Linked DNA regions of Homo sapiens: regions 1, 3 and 4 are each linked to region 2. The links are contacts of gene promoters, found by promoter capture Hi-C in human tissues and cell types (Jung and others, 2019). All regions are on one chromosome and are shown on one strand. Each heading gives the region's core, a stretch centred on a gene start or on the middle of the fragment in contact. The rest is flanking DNA. Distances are from core to core; before and after follow the strand shown.

The links. Contacts are between HindIII fragments. The study calls those that stand out against the background at their distance.
Region 1: a fragment that was not itself captured here is called in contact with the fragment with the promoter of NFIC in region 2 in 1 of the 25 tissues and cell types used here (dorsolateral prefrontal cortex).
Region 3: the fragment with the promoter of ZNF57 here is called in contact with the fragment with the promoter of NFIC in region 2 in 2 of the 25 tissues and cell types used here (mesendoderm cells and thymus).
Region 4: the fragment with the promoter of RAX2 here is called in contact with the fragment with the promoter of NFIC in region 2 in 1 of the 25 tissues and cell types used here (heart right ventricle).

Annotation. Positions count from the first base shown.
Region 1 is chr19:3,022,903-3,026,086 of GRCh38, forward strand. TLE2 (TLE family member 2, transcriptional corepressor) reads right to left here. Exons shown (of 20, transcript NM_003260.5): 5 at 2,118-2,180. Among named protein-coding and RNA genes, the nearest start is that of TLE2, 4.8 kb to the right of the region's middle. The HindIII fragment of the contact is 4,166 bases long and covers 1-3,184 here.
Region 2 is chr19:3,364,634-3,368,104 of GRCh38, forward strand. It overlaps NFIC (nuclear factor I C), which reads left to right and starts at 1,950. Exons shown (of 11, transcript NM_001245002.2): 1 at 1,950-2,033. The coding sequence starts at 2,004. RefSeq lists silencers at 1,579-1,668, 2,119-2,268, 2,559-2,958. The HindIII fragment of the contact is 27,364 bases long and covers 1-3,471 here.
Region 3 is chr19:2,899,113-2,902,675 of GRCh38, forward strand. ZNF57 (zinc finger protein 57) reads left to right here and starts at 1,816. Exons shown (of 4, transcript NM_173480.3): 1 at 1,816-1,936. The coding sequence starts at 1,934. RefSeq lists a silencer at 1,204-1,253 and enhancers at 1,433-2,004, 1,864-2,013. The HindIII fragment of the contact is 10,438 bases long and covers 1-3,563 here.
Region 4 is chr19:3,770,409-3,773,569 of GRCh38, forward strand. RAX2 (retina and anterior neural fold homeobox 2) reads right to left here and starts at 1,820. Exons shown (of 3, transcript NM_001319074.4): 1 at 1,755-1,820; 2 at 1,119-1,602; 3 at 1-551. The coding sequence starts at 1,334. The coding sequence ends at 213. RefSeq lists an enhancer at 113-612. The HindIII fragment of the contact is 8,287 bases long and covers 1-3,161 here.

The DNA of each region.
Region 1 (3,184 bases), core at 14-2,513, 340 kb before region 2:
GGAAATGATATGTACATGAGTGGGCGTGGCTATGTCAATAAAACTTTATTTGCAAAAACAAGTGGAGGGGTGGAGCTGGCCCTCGAGCTGCAGTTTGCTAATTCCTGGAAATGTGTGCCTTACTCATTCCTTTCAACAGTCATTTTACCTAATCTTTTTTTTTTTTTTTTGAGACAGAATCTCGCTGTGTTGCCCAGGCTGGAGTGCAATGGTGCGAACTCGGCTCACTGCAACCTCCACCCCCCGGGTTCAAGCAATTCTCCTGCCTCAGCCTCCCGAGTAGCTGGGACTAGCCCAGCTAATTTTTGTATTTTTAGTAGAAATGAGGTTTCACCATACTGGCCAGGTGGGTCTCAAACTCCTGACCTCATGACCCGCACGCCTTGGCCTCCCAAAGTGCTGGGATTACAGGCGTGAGCCACTGGGCTCGGCCTACCTAAACTTCTTGCGGCTCTTGCCTTTCTCTAGACCACCTCGTCCCCACTTTCCGCTGCAGATGCTCTTTATGTTCTGTGTCTACACAGGACCTCTCCCCACCCCAAGCTTCCAGAAATCTCAGACTCAGTGGAATCTGAACAAACTGAGCATCTCCCCTCTGGGTTTGGTCCTCAAGGCATCAAGGATCCTCCCAGTGTATCCACTCTGAAGTAGAACTATCTTTCACGTCTCTCTGAAGAGAGAACGTACCACACAGAAACAGGGACAGTGCAGGCTGGGTACAGTGGCTCACACCTGTAAACCCAACACTCGGAGCCTGACACGGGCGGATTGCTTGAGTCCGGGGGTTCGAGACCAGCCCGGGCAACATAGGGAGACCCGTCTCTACTAAAAATACAAAAATTAGCCGGGCGTGGTGGTGCACGCCTGTAATCCCAGCTACTCAGGAGGCTGAGGCATGAGAATCGCTTGCACCCAGGAGGTGGAGGTTGCAGTCAGCCAAGATCATGCCACTGCACTCCAGCCTGGGTAACAGAGCAAGAATCCATCACACACACACACACACACAAAAGAAAAGAAAAAGAAAAAAGAAACAGGGACTGTGCAAAGGTACTGAGGATGAAAGGAACCTGGGGCACTCTCAGAAGAGCTAACTTTTTTTTTTTTTTTTTTTGAGATGGAGTCTAACTCTCTCACCCAGGCTGGAGTGCAGCGGCGCAATCTCTGCTCACTGCAACCCCCGCCTCCTGAGTTCAAGCAATTCTATTCTCCTGCCTCAGCCTCCCGAGTAGCTGGGATTACAGGCAAACACCACCATGCCCGGCTAATTTTTTTTTTTAAGTTTTAGCAGAGACAGGGTTTCACCATGTTGGACAGGCTGGTCTCGAACTCCTGACCTCTGGTGATCCACCTGCCTCAGCCTCCCAAAATGCTGGGATTACAGGCAGGAGCCACCGCACCTGGCCGAATTACAGTCCATTTTAACCATTTGTAAGTGCACAGCTCAGCAGCATAAAGCACACACACGGTTGTGCAGCCATCCCCAGCACCATCTCCAGAATTTTCCCATCTTCCCAAACTGAATTTCTGTCCCCATAAAACTCTCACTCCCCGTCCCCTCCCCAACCCCTGGCACCCCCCATTCTGCTTTCTGTCTCAGTGAACCTGACGACCCTGGGACCTCCTAGGAGTGGATCACCCAGTGTTTGTCCCTCAGTGACTTCTTCTAGCAAGACGGTAGGGTTAACTTTCATCAGGTGCTGAGTAAGCGTACCCATCATCTCCAGCACCCTGGGTGTATGAGCTCATCTCAACTTCACACCTACGCTACTGAAAAAACAGAGACAAGTGTCCTGCCTGAGGCCACACAGCCAGGATTCAGACCCAGGCAGCCAACTTGCAGGGCTTGAGGGGGTCAGCTCTATGCCTTGCTTCCCATCAAGGGGGAAAACAGCCCCCAGTCCTCACCCTCAGCCAACACCTCCCTCCATCCCTGCAGCCCCTGCCCCAGCGGGATGCCTGGCCTCAGGGCTGCGGGACTACTGCAGTGAAAATGGTCTCTATCCGTGCTGCAGGCTACGCGGCAGAATCAGTGCCTGGGGCGTCCTCGCCCAGACCTACCCCCTCCCGTCTTCTTCCGGCTCCCTTCCCCTCCTCCCCCCACCCCCAGGCCCACTCACCTCCTGGGTCAGGAAGGGGATAATCTGAGCGCAGATACCGCTCAGACGCTTCACAATCTCCGCCTGGCAGGAAGCAATGAGAGGAAGCTTGGAGCGGGGTAGAGATTTGCAACCCAGCTCTGGACTCCCAGGCGGACCAGGTGTTGGCAAAGCCGAAGGGTTGGGGAGGTGACGCCCGCAGGTGCACAGAGGGAACTCAGGCTAGCATGGCATGGGCCGAGGTGGGATTCAGAGCCCCACCAGGCTGCGTGCTCAGCTGAGCGAGGCCCAGGGTGGCCTGGAGCTGGGAAGACCAGGGCTGAGGTCCTACGAGTCACAGATACACCACCCGCCAGACGCACACCCGCCAGGGATTTGCAGGAGGCAGACGCTCAGACACCCAACTCAGACGCAGACACTCAGAGGTGCTGGGCTCAGCTGAAACAAAGGAAAGGGGCCTCCGCCTGGAGTCCCAGATTCCAGCCCCGGCTTGGCCCACGTCTGTCCCAGGCAAGGCCCCTTTCTTGGTCTCCTCCGCTTCCCAGGACTGATCTACCAGCTGGGGATGCCTCCAGGTGGAGATCTCAGCACGCCACACTCAAGGGAAGGATTTCATCTGGAGAGGGTCTGGGCCCAGGTGCCCCAAAGAGGCTGAGCAGACGAGAAGGCGTGTGGGTGGGGAAGGGGGCGGGCATACAATGGCCACGGACTTTGCCTCTGCCTGAGTTACAGGTGTGCTGTGTGTCTGGCGAAGTCTGTGTCTCCTATTCCCACCAGGAGGGTGGAACTGGGATCCCAGGGTGTCCCGCACCCCATAAAGGGGGGTCTATTGCGTGGACCCATGGGACCACGCCATGCTTCAGCAGACAAGCCCCCTCCTGCCCACATCAGAACCAACAGAACCCCCACACATGCAGGAAAGCATGCCAGGGTGGGCAACCCCAGGCACCCCACACTCCCAGCCCACCCCCTTCTCCTTCCCAGCCACCGGGAAGTCCCAATACAAGGTTCTGCTCATTGATTCTAATATTCTGATAGAATCTAGGAGCCCATGAAGCTCAGAAGTTTGGGACCCCTCTCATCCCTTT
Region 2 (3,471 bases), core at 700-3,199:
ATAGCCATTTTACAGATGAGGAAACCGAGGTTCCAAGAGGGGCAGTCTCTGCTCTCTAAACTTCACCTTCCAAAGGATTCTAAGCTGCTGAATGAAGGCTGCAGGCAGGGTGGTCTGTACAGGGGAGGGAGGGTGGAAGGCACGGGGTCTGGAAGTCTAGGAGGAGTGTCTGAAGTCAACTGCAACTTTTAAATATCTGTGAATTTTAGATTTCACCCTGTATGTGTCCCTAGCGTGTTTTAATAAAATAAATTGCTTCACGTTATATTGGTATGTGGATTTCCAGATACACTTCTCACCATTTAATTCAAATGCTCCCCACAGCTGCACAGTGGGTTTAAAATACACAGACACACACATTTATGGACCGTTCGTGATGTACTAAGCACTGTTTGAATAATGTCACCGTCATGCAGAGGGGAGCCTGTGGGGGGCCTAGGGAACCTACGCTGCAGGAATTCTGCTCCCTCCTAGTTTACCTGTCAGACCCTGGGCAAGTGGCTTCCGTTCTCTGGGCCTCAGTTTCCTCTCCTGTAATGCCTGAGGATAATGGGTGCTGGTATCTTCTGCGCCCCTGGGCCTGGGGCACCTGCCCCAGCTTGGTGAGAGGGTATCATTTGTCCTTGGGAAGCTCAGAGAGATGAGGTGAAATGGCCAAGCTTTCTAAGAATGTGTCTTTAGTGAACATTTGACCCAAGGTCAAGGCTCTGCTAAGGTCATTGTCCTTATCCCCAGCAATCCCACAGGATGGGCATCTTTAAGCCACTTTATAGGGGAGAACCCTTGGGATGGGAATGAGAGACACAGCAGCCTCTGAGCTAGCCTGGGAGGATCCAGGGAGTGAACCGGGGGAGGGTTGGGGCCCTGTCATCAGATGCCCTGGGGGCTCAGACGGAGGCAGGCCAGGTCTCTGCCCTGTTACGTCTAGAAGGAGAACAGAATGTGGGCTCCAGGTCCAGATGGCCTGGCTCCAAGCCACACTTGCCATACCTCAGTCTTGAGATCTGTGAAAAGGGCACACCCCTGAGGCAGGTGGAAATTATTGGATACCCAGGGGGAGGCTGCAAGGGTTTATCTGGCCAGCTGGAGATCCCGCCTGGACACCGTCCTCCTGGGGTGCTGGAGAGACACACAGGCGAGGCCACCCCTCCCCTGCCCCTTGGGTGCTGGGTGAAGAGAGCAAATTCTGGAGCCTCCCGTGTTAGCCTGGGCCCTTCTGGCCAAGGAAGGGACAGCTGCACACAAGCCCCTCTAGCTGGGGACCCGCAGCCCCTGCCTGGCTCTGGGGGGAGAAGGGAGCCAGGGTGCTGTGGGACCAGCTCACCGTGCACCCAGGGTCGTACATCTTTAAGGGGAAAGAGGCGCGCTGGCCGGCCTCTGCGCACGTCACTTCTTCATTCCTTCCCTCCCCCCTGGCTCTTTCCTCCAACTTCCCGGCCAGCTCGGGGGTGATGGGGGGGTGGGGAGGGGGGGCCTTAAAAATCCACCCCTGGCCCCTCAATGTCCAGAAACAACCCTGTCCCCCCTCTCCGCTTGATCCGAATTGGGGTCGCCCTGCAGTCCTGGGGTCCTGGTCTAGTGCCCTGGGGCATTGCGTAAATACGGGAGGAGCGGGGGGGTCCTGAGACGTCGGGGGAGGCTCTCCTTTCTCGCTCGCGCCCTTTTTTCCCTCGTTTCTTTGAAAGTTGGGTGTTGAGAAGTGGGAGGTTCGGGGTGGGAGGGGGAGGGTGTCAGAGGGTAGAGAGAGAGACAGAGAGACAGAGACGGGGGAGAGAGGAAGAGAGAGACGGAGGGAGAGAGGGACAGAGAGCGAGGCGGGCGGCGCGAGAGAGGGAGAGCAGGAGGGAGGAGGAGGGAGACCGAGGGAGGAGGCGGCGAGGAGAGCGCGCCGGCCGCGGGGCGGGGGGGGGGGTTGGGGGGGGCGGGGGGGTGGTTTGGAAAAATGACTCAGTAAGTTCAGCGCGCCCGCTCCGGCCGGCCCTGCGCCTCCCGCCGCGCCCGGGATGTATTCGTCCCCGCTCTGCCTCACCCAGGTACGGTCCTCGCCCGGCCCCCCGCCGGCGCCCCCGCGCCCCCCGCATCCCAGCCCCGGAGTTTTGAAGCAGGAGGAGGCGGGACGAAAAAGGCGCGCGTCCCTCCCGCCATCCCTGCCCGGGATGCCCCCCGCGCCGAGGGCTGGGGTCCGGTGGGGGGATGGGTCAGGCTGGGGTACCCCCCCCACACCCTTACCTACCGCGGACCCCCTACGCGGGACTCCCGCCCAGCACCCCCAACCCCGACTCTCGGGACCTCTCCCGGATGTGGGGCTTGGTCTGCAGATTTGCGTCCCCCCCCCACACACCGACGCACTCCGCACCCCCGCCCCGACACTCGGAAAGGTCGGGGTGGGGGCTGGCCCCCCTCCAGCAAGGGCTCTGCGGGAAGCCCCCCGCCTGCCTCTGAGAGGAATCTAGGGGGTCGTGATTGGACCCTGGGTCTCCCCAGCTGGAGAGAAAGGGACCTCTCATGTGTTTTCCCCGTGTCCCCCCACCAAGGTTGTGCGGGCCGCCCTGGCCCTCGGTCGCCTTTCCCTCGTTATTGGCCCACGTGTGCATGGAGGGGGAGGGGGCAGGAGAAGTTGGAGGCCCAGGAGGGGGAAGGGTGCTCCGGCGGCCCGGCTGGGTCCCCCCTCCTTTGCAAGCCCCCCAGCACCGTCCCGGTATTTTCGCTGCATCGATTCTGGATTCTGGATTCTGGATTCTGGAGCCGCCGCCGGGAGGAGCGGGAGGCCCGGCGCTCCGGGTCTGGCCCGGGCACTGCGGCGCTGCGGACGCCCTCGCCAGCCCGGCACCTGCCCCGTCCCCTCCCCCTCCCCCTCCCCCTCCCGTAGCCTCTCACCCCTGGCCGCACTCCCAGACTGCCCCGGGGCCGAGCCTTGTGCAATGGCCGAGGGGGTGTGTGGGGAGGGGGCGGCTCCCCCCGGGGACTCCTTCCAGCCCAGGCTCCCGGGGACCCCGAGGTCTGCAAGTTCCGTTTTCTAGACCGCTGCTTTCCTCCTTACGCAGTGTGTCTTTAGGCTGGAGAGGTTCTGGCCTCAGTTTCCCCTGAAGTGAGGTGCGGCTAAGGCCGGTTCTGGAGAGGGGACAGTATGGCGGGCAAACTGTAAAGTCCCGGCACGTGGGGGGTGCGATTCCAGCGAGGGCCAGGCCCGTCTTAAGAAGCACTGTGTGGGGAGTATATGAGTCCCCGGCTTCCGCTCCAGGGCATGGTGCAGTGAGGGACCCCCCACGCCAGGCATGCTCCTTGGTAGGGTCTTTCTCACCGGCCCCCTGCAGCCGACAGGGAATGTGGGAGCTGGTGCTGAGGGGGTCTGAGGTCTGTCCTACCTGTGATCCCCTGAGTGACCTTGGGTAAGTCCCTGTCCCAGCCTCAGTTTCCCTTTCTGAGCAGCTTTGGGGGGGGGGTTCCCGAAGAAGGCATCTCTTTGAAGTT
Region 3 (3,563 bases), core at 566-3,065, 470 kb before region 2:
CCTCAGCTTCCCAAAGTGCTGGGATTATAGGTGTGAGCCACCACGCCTGGCCTGGATTTTGTTTTTTTTTTTTTTTTTTGAGACGGAGTCTCCGTCTGTTGCCCAGGCTGGAGTGCAGTGGCGCCATCTCGGCTCACTGCAAGCTCCGTCTCCCGGGTTCAGCCATTCCCCTGCCTCAGCCTCCCGAGTAGCTGGGACTACAGGTGCCCGCCACCACGCCTGGCTAATTTTTTTGTATTTTTAGTAGAGATGGTTTCACCGTGTTAGCCAGGATGGTCTCGATCTCCTGACCTCGTGATCCACCCGCCTCGGCCTCCCAAAGTGCTGAGATTACAGGCTTGGGCCACCATGCCCGGCCCCGGATTTCTTGATCTAAAGAATGTCCGCCGGGCGCGGTAGCTCACGCCTCTAATTCCAGCACTTTGGGAGGCCGAGGCAGGCGGATCACGAGGTCAGGAGTTCAAGACCAGCTTGGCCAACATAGTGAAACCCCCGTCTCTACTAAAAATACAAAAATTAGCCGGACGTGGTGGCAGGCGCCTGTAATCTCAGCTACTCGGGAGGCTGAGGCAGGAGAATCGCTTTAACCCTGAAGGCGGAGGTTGCAGTGAGCCGAGATCACGCCACTGCACTCCAGCCGGGGCGACAGTGTGAGACTCCGTCTCAAAATAAAAAAATAAATAAAACAAAAAACAATGTCCAACAAAAAAACAAATCCAGCGAGGCCAGACAGGATAGGGGCTCCCTGGGGTCCGCCCATTTTCGGGATCAGGTGACTCGAGGTTTGGTCCTTATTTTAGTGCAGGCTCAGATGTCGGGGGCGAGCCAAAGTGCAGGGGCCTGTGGGAAGGACAGGAGGCTGGGAAACGTTTGGGTAAAAAAATCAGGACACTGGCCGTGCGCGGTGGCTCACGCCTGTAATCCCAGCACTTTGGGAGGCCGAGGCGGGCCGATCACGAGGTCAGGAGATCGAGACCATCCTGGCTAACACGGTGAAACCTCGTCTCTACTAAAAATACAAAAAAATTAGCCGGCGTGGTGGCGGGTGCCTGTGTCCCAGCTACTCGGGAGGCTGAGGTAGGAGAATGGCCTGAACCCGGGAGGCGGAGCTTGCAGTGAGCCGAGATGGCGCCACTGCACTCCAGCCTGGGCGACAGAGCGAGACTCCACCTCAAAAAAAAAAAAAAAAAAAAAAAAAAAAATCAGGACACTGACAGCACGTGCTCCAGCACGGGGCAGGGCCTCCATGGGGTCCGCGCCCACGCGGGGCAGCGCGGTGACGTCACGGCTGAGGACCCCGCCCCACGAAGGGCTCACCCCACGCGACCCACGCCGCTCGCTCGCCCCTCCCCTCCACGCAGCACTCCGGCTGCTCCGTGGGGAAACTGAGTCTGGACTTCTCGTGCCCGTTCGGGAGAAGGACGCGGGAGGCGCGGCCGAGCTGCGGGGAGAGGTTGGGCTCACCCCGGGCCAGAGCGAGTTCGCGCAAACGGGAGTGTCCACCGCTGGCGGGTCAGCCACTAGCGTTGGCTACGCGCCGGTCACTCGGGCGACAGGAGGCGGGGCGGCGCGGAAGTTATCTTCCAATCAGGTGCTCCGGGGGCGGGTCCGGAAAACTGTCCAATCAAGGCACGGGGCGGACACCGGGAAGCGGATTGCAGGTTTGCAGTAGTGTCCAATCGAAGGCCCCAGGGGTGAAGGGGGCGTGTCCAAAACGCTGTCCGCTCAGAGCGTTGAAAGGGCGGGGGCTTAGAGATTGTCCAATCAGGGCGCCGCTTCCTGAGCTCCGAGGCCCCGAGGGCGGGACGTTTCGTCCTCCCTGCCGCGCGTGCCCTGCCTACCACGAGCGGCCCGGGAGTACCTGTACCTTTCAGCTGCGCCGGCCGCGAGGCCACGGAGAGCTCGCCTTGGAGAGCCCAGGAGCAGGGGAGACATGGTGAGTGCGAGGCAGGAGCAGAGCCAGGGGACGGTCGGAGCGACGGGAACCGGCTGGAACCAGAGTCCGCCGAAGTCTGCGGCCGGGATTGGCTGAGGGACGCGCGGGGCGGCGCAGGACTAGCACCTGGGACCCGGGGACGCCATCACAGCGGCCGGGCTGGAGGACTGGGGGCAGTTTGGGGGGACGGAAGGGGCGGCAAGGAGCTTGGGGGTAACTTAGGGGGAGGCCTGGGCAGGAGGGGGGCTGGAGGTAGTTTGGGGGGACGGTAGGGGCGGTCAGGGGTCAGGGACCAGTTTGGGGGGACGGCAAGGGACGGTCAGCAGGTTGGGGATGTTACGCGTGTCCGTATAAGAGGTCACCTGAGCAGGCTTAGTGTGAGCCACAAGGCTGTTTACTCACTTGGGTGCAAGTGGGCTGAGTCTGAGAAAGGACTCAGCAAAGGGTGATGGGATTATTATTGGTTTTATTTTTTTATTTTTTTTATTTTTGGGACGGAGTCCCGCTCTGTCGCCAGGCTGGAGTGCAGTGGCGTGATCTCGGCTCACTGCAACTTCCGCCTCCCGGGTTCAAGCGATTCTCCTGCCTCAGCCTCCGGAGTAGCTGAGATTACAGGCGCCCGCCCTCACGCCCGGCTAATTTTTGTTTTTAGTAGAGACAGGGTTTCACCATGTTGGCCAGAATGGTCTCGATCTCTTGACCTTGTGATCCGCCCGCCTCGGCCTCCCAAAGTGCTGGGATTACAGGCGTGAGCCACCGCGCCCGGCAATCATTAGTCCTTATAGGTTTGGGACAGGCATCGGAGTTAGGAGCAGTTTTTTTGAGGACAGTTGGTGGGTGTTACAAAGTACATTCTCAAGGGCGGCGACGATGTTTCAAAGTACATTCACAAGGGCTTGGGGGATGTATTGTCACAAGGGCTGGGAGGAATATTACAAAGTACCTTCACAAGGGCGCGAGCGTGTATTGTCACAAGGGCGGGGTACATTCACAAGGGCGAGGAGGACGTATCGTACAAAGTACATTCACAAGGGCGGGGGAATATCACAAAGTACATTATCACAAGGGCGGGGGGCTTGACCATGGTGCGGCCAGCTCAGAGAACCTTACAGGGGACAGCTTGGGGGGATGGCAAGGGACGGCCTGGGGGTCAGAGGCAGTTTGGGGGACGACCTCAGCGGTGGGAGTTAGCTGCCCTGGGGGTTTTGTTGCAGGGTATCACTAATGCTGTGAAAGCTTTATTCGGGCAGCCGGTGTCAGTAAATGTACTGTACTGTTCTCCTGTTTGGCTTTTTTCTTCTCCTTAGTGACAATAGGAAAATGTTCAAGTGTGTTTTCTGCCTTCTGGTCCGTCAGGATAACACCTGTTTATCGTGGGGTACAGGCTAAGCATGGCCTAAGGAAGTCTCTCAGGAATATTCTGTCTCCCACCAGAATTGTAGAGAAAGTGTGCGCAGTTCCACATCTTATAGCAGCTAGAGATGGATTAAAATGTTCATAAAAATAGTAGTTTTTCAAATGCCAAAGCAATCAGACAAAAAATAATAGTTATTCTTCCATACAAGGTGCAGAGTTTGCGACAGTGTGTGATCGTGTTCCATTTCAGTTCAGCTAGACATGAGATTAA
Region 4 (3,161 bases), core at 570-3,069, 410 kb after region 2:
GCCAGCAGGACGGGTGGCGATGGGGTGGGAGACGGGATGGGGGCAGGGAACCCAGCAGCCTGTCTCTCTGGTCCCGCTCCCCAGTGGTGGTGGCCTGGCCTGACCACGGTTGCTCCATGACCTCGGCCTAGGCCAAGGCGTGGTGGCTGTCACCAGGGCACGTCCCCGGTTCTCGGGTTGGGCCGAGGAGGGGGCCCGGGAGGGCGGCAGGCTCAGGCTGGCGGCCAGGCCCTGTCCAGAGCCTGTGCATGTTCCTTGGCCAGCAGCCGCAGGGACGCCTCCTCCAGGGCGAAGCCATCTGCGAAGGTGGGAGCAAAGGCATGAGGCCCGAAGGACGCTTGCAGCCCCGGGCCCGGGCCCAGGAGGCGGGGGAGGCCTGGCACGGCCGGCGGTCCGGGGCCCAACCAGGGCTCCAGGGGCAGCGACATGGCCGGGGGGCGGGCGAACGGCAGCGCTGGGGCCTCGGGGAGTCTCGGAGCTGCCACGGCACCCGAGCCTGACTCCAGCCGCTCCTGGCGGCGCCACTTGGCCCGGCGGTTCTGGAACCACACCTGGAGGGTGCGAGAGGGAAGGGGGGTTGCTGTGAGCTCAGCCGCTCCCCGCCAATCCTCGGACCCCCTCTGCACACCCCAGCCCTGGGGGTTCTGACTCCCGTCTGACCCGACTCCTACCTGCTGCTTCGCTGTTCTGCCCCAAGAAGATGAGGATCTCCCAAGCGTTCCCTAAGCCCAGGCTCCCCTCCAACTCCTCACTCCCCTCCTTGGCCTCCCTTGGCCCTTAGCAAGTAACCTGAGCTGCCTAACGTGGCATTCAAGGCCTTCAAAAGCGTTGTTACCCACACCATTCTCTGCCTCCTCCTTCACCCCTGGCTCAAGGGAAACGCCTCCAACTTAACCCCTCCATGTCTTTGCACACACTGTTCAGGATGCCTAGAAAAACTCCCCTTTTCCTTCCCAGCTGGCACACTCCTACTCAAATGTCAAAACCTCAGCTCCCACACCCCCTCCTCCAGGAAGCCTTCCTAGCTTCTCTTCTGCTGTTGCTCCGGGAGGGTCAGGATCTTGCTTTGCCTCCCTCCCCAGGTTGCAAAAGATGTGTGTGTTGGGGGGTGCCCTCACCTGCACGCGCACCTCAGGTAGGTGCACCTTGGCTGCCAGCTCCTCACGGCTGTACACATCCGGGTAGTGAGAGGCCTCGAACGCCCGCTCCAGCTGGTGCAGCTGGTAGGTGGTGAAGGTGGTGCGGTTCCTCCGGTGCTTCTTCTTGGGGGCCTCCTCGCCCGGCCCCAGACCCCCACCCTCGGTTGCCGGCCCCTCGCCCGGGCTCAGGAACATGGCTCCCACCTGGTGGGACGGCAGCGGGACAGATGGTGGGGAGACGGCTGGGGGGGCTACCGGCAGGGACAGGGCAGGGGAGCCCCAGGCTTGCCTCCCGGCTCCGGGGAAATCGGTTCCCTCCACTGGGGCCGGCATGCGCTCTGCATCCCCAGGCTGTCCTCCTCGGGCTTGGGGGGGTCTCCTGCTGTGCCTCTGTCTGCTCTTCCTTCTCTCTGTGTGTGTCACCGTCCCTGTTTTCTCTTCCCCTCTCTGTGACTGTCACGGCCTGTGTGTGTGTGTGTCGGCGGGGGGGGGTCAAGGATGCCCCCCCGTCAAGGAAGGCAGGATCCCTTCTCACGCCCTAAGCCCTCCACCCTGAGGGGATCTCTGCCCCCACCACCTCCTACCCAGGCCCACCAGTGCCCACCCCGCACTCACCGCCCACGGCAGCCCCTCCGTCGATTTCCACGGGACACCTGCCCCAGCGGGCCTGGCGCTGCGTCTGCTGTGGCCTGGCCCTGCCGGAGCCGAGCCAGGTCGGGGCTGCGTGGGGGAGGATTAGCTCAAGGTGATTAATTGAGGCGGCCCCTCCCACTTGGTCCTGGGCTGTTCTGAGCCAGGAGGGAGGGCAGGGTGGATGGAGGGCTGGGGCTCTAAGTGGGTGGCTGGGGGGATAGTCTTACAGGCTCCACGGCCCCTTGCCATAAGACGGCAAGGGCCTCTCCCTCTCTGGGCCTCAGTTTCCCTGGCTGTAAAACTGCCACACTAGGACCTACCCTGGGGGGATTTCAGCTTCTCAGAGCATCGCACAGAAATTGGCATACAGGGGGCACTTAATGAATGCTCACTGTTAATATTTTTATCTGCTGGGGGCAGAAAAAGGTGTCTTAGAACTCACAGATGTCAGAGGCAGTTGGGGAAGCTGAGGTCCAGAGGTGAAGGCACTGCAGTTGGTTCCTCTGGACACAAGGGGTAGGGACCCTTTTAGCTGGGTCTGGAGGTATGAATAGACGTTCACCATTCACAGCCGGGCGCAGTGGCTCACGCCTGTAACCCCAGCACTTTGGGAGGCTGAGGCGGGCGGATCACCTGAGATCATGAGTTTGAGACCAGCCTGGCCAACATGGCAAAACCCTGTCTACTAAAAATACAAAAATTAGCCAGGCGTGGTGGTGGGTGCCTATAACTCCCAGCTACTCGGGAGGCTGAGGCAGGAGAATTGCTTGAACCTGGTGGGGTGGAGCTTGCAGTGAGCCAAGGTCATGCCATTGCACTCCAGCCTGGGCAACAGAGTGAAACTCCATCTCAAAAAAAAAAAAAAACAAAAAACCAAAACCACCACCAACAAAAAAGAAAAACAGAAGTTCACCATTCAATAAACATTTATTGAGCACTTACTGTGTACCAGGTACTGCTCACAGCAGTAGTGACCAAAACAGACAGAAGTCACGGGGCTGACTTTCTAGCAGGGCAGACAGACAACCAACCACTGTGTTAAAATGCAGAGCGTGGCCAGTGGCCACGAGCCTAGGGAGAAAACCCACGGAGGGGGGCCTGTGGGGGCAAGGTGGGTTGATATTTCATTTAGTTTTTGGGTTTTTTTTTGAGACAGAGTCCTACTCTGTCGCCCAGGCTGGAGTGCAGTGGCACGATCTCAGCTCACTGCAACCTCCGCCTCCTGGGTTCAAGCAATTCTCCTGCCTCAGCCTCCTGAGTAGCTGGGATTACAGACACCTGCAACCACGCCTGGCTAATTTTTGTATTTTTTAGTAGAGACACGGTTTCGCCACCTTGGCCAGGCTGGTCTTGAACTCCTGACCTCGTGATCCGCCTGCCTTGGCCTCC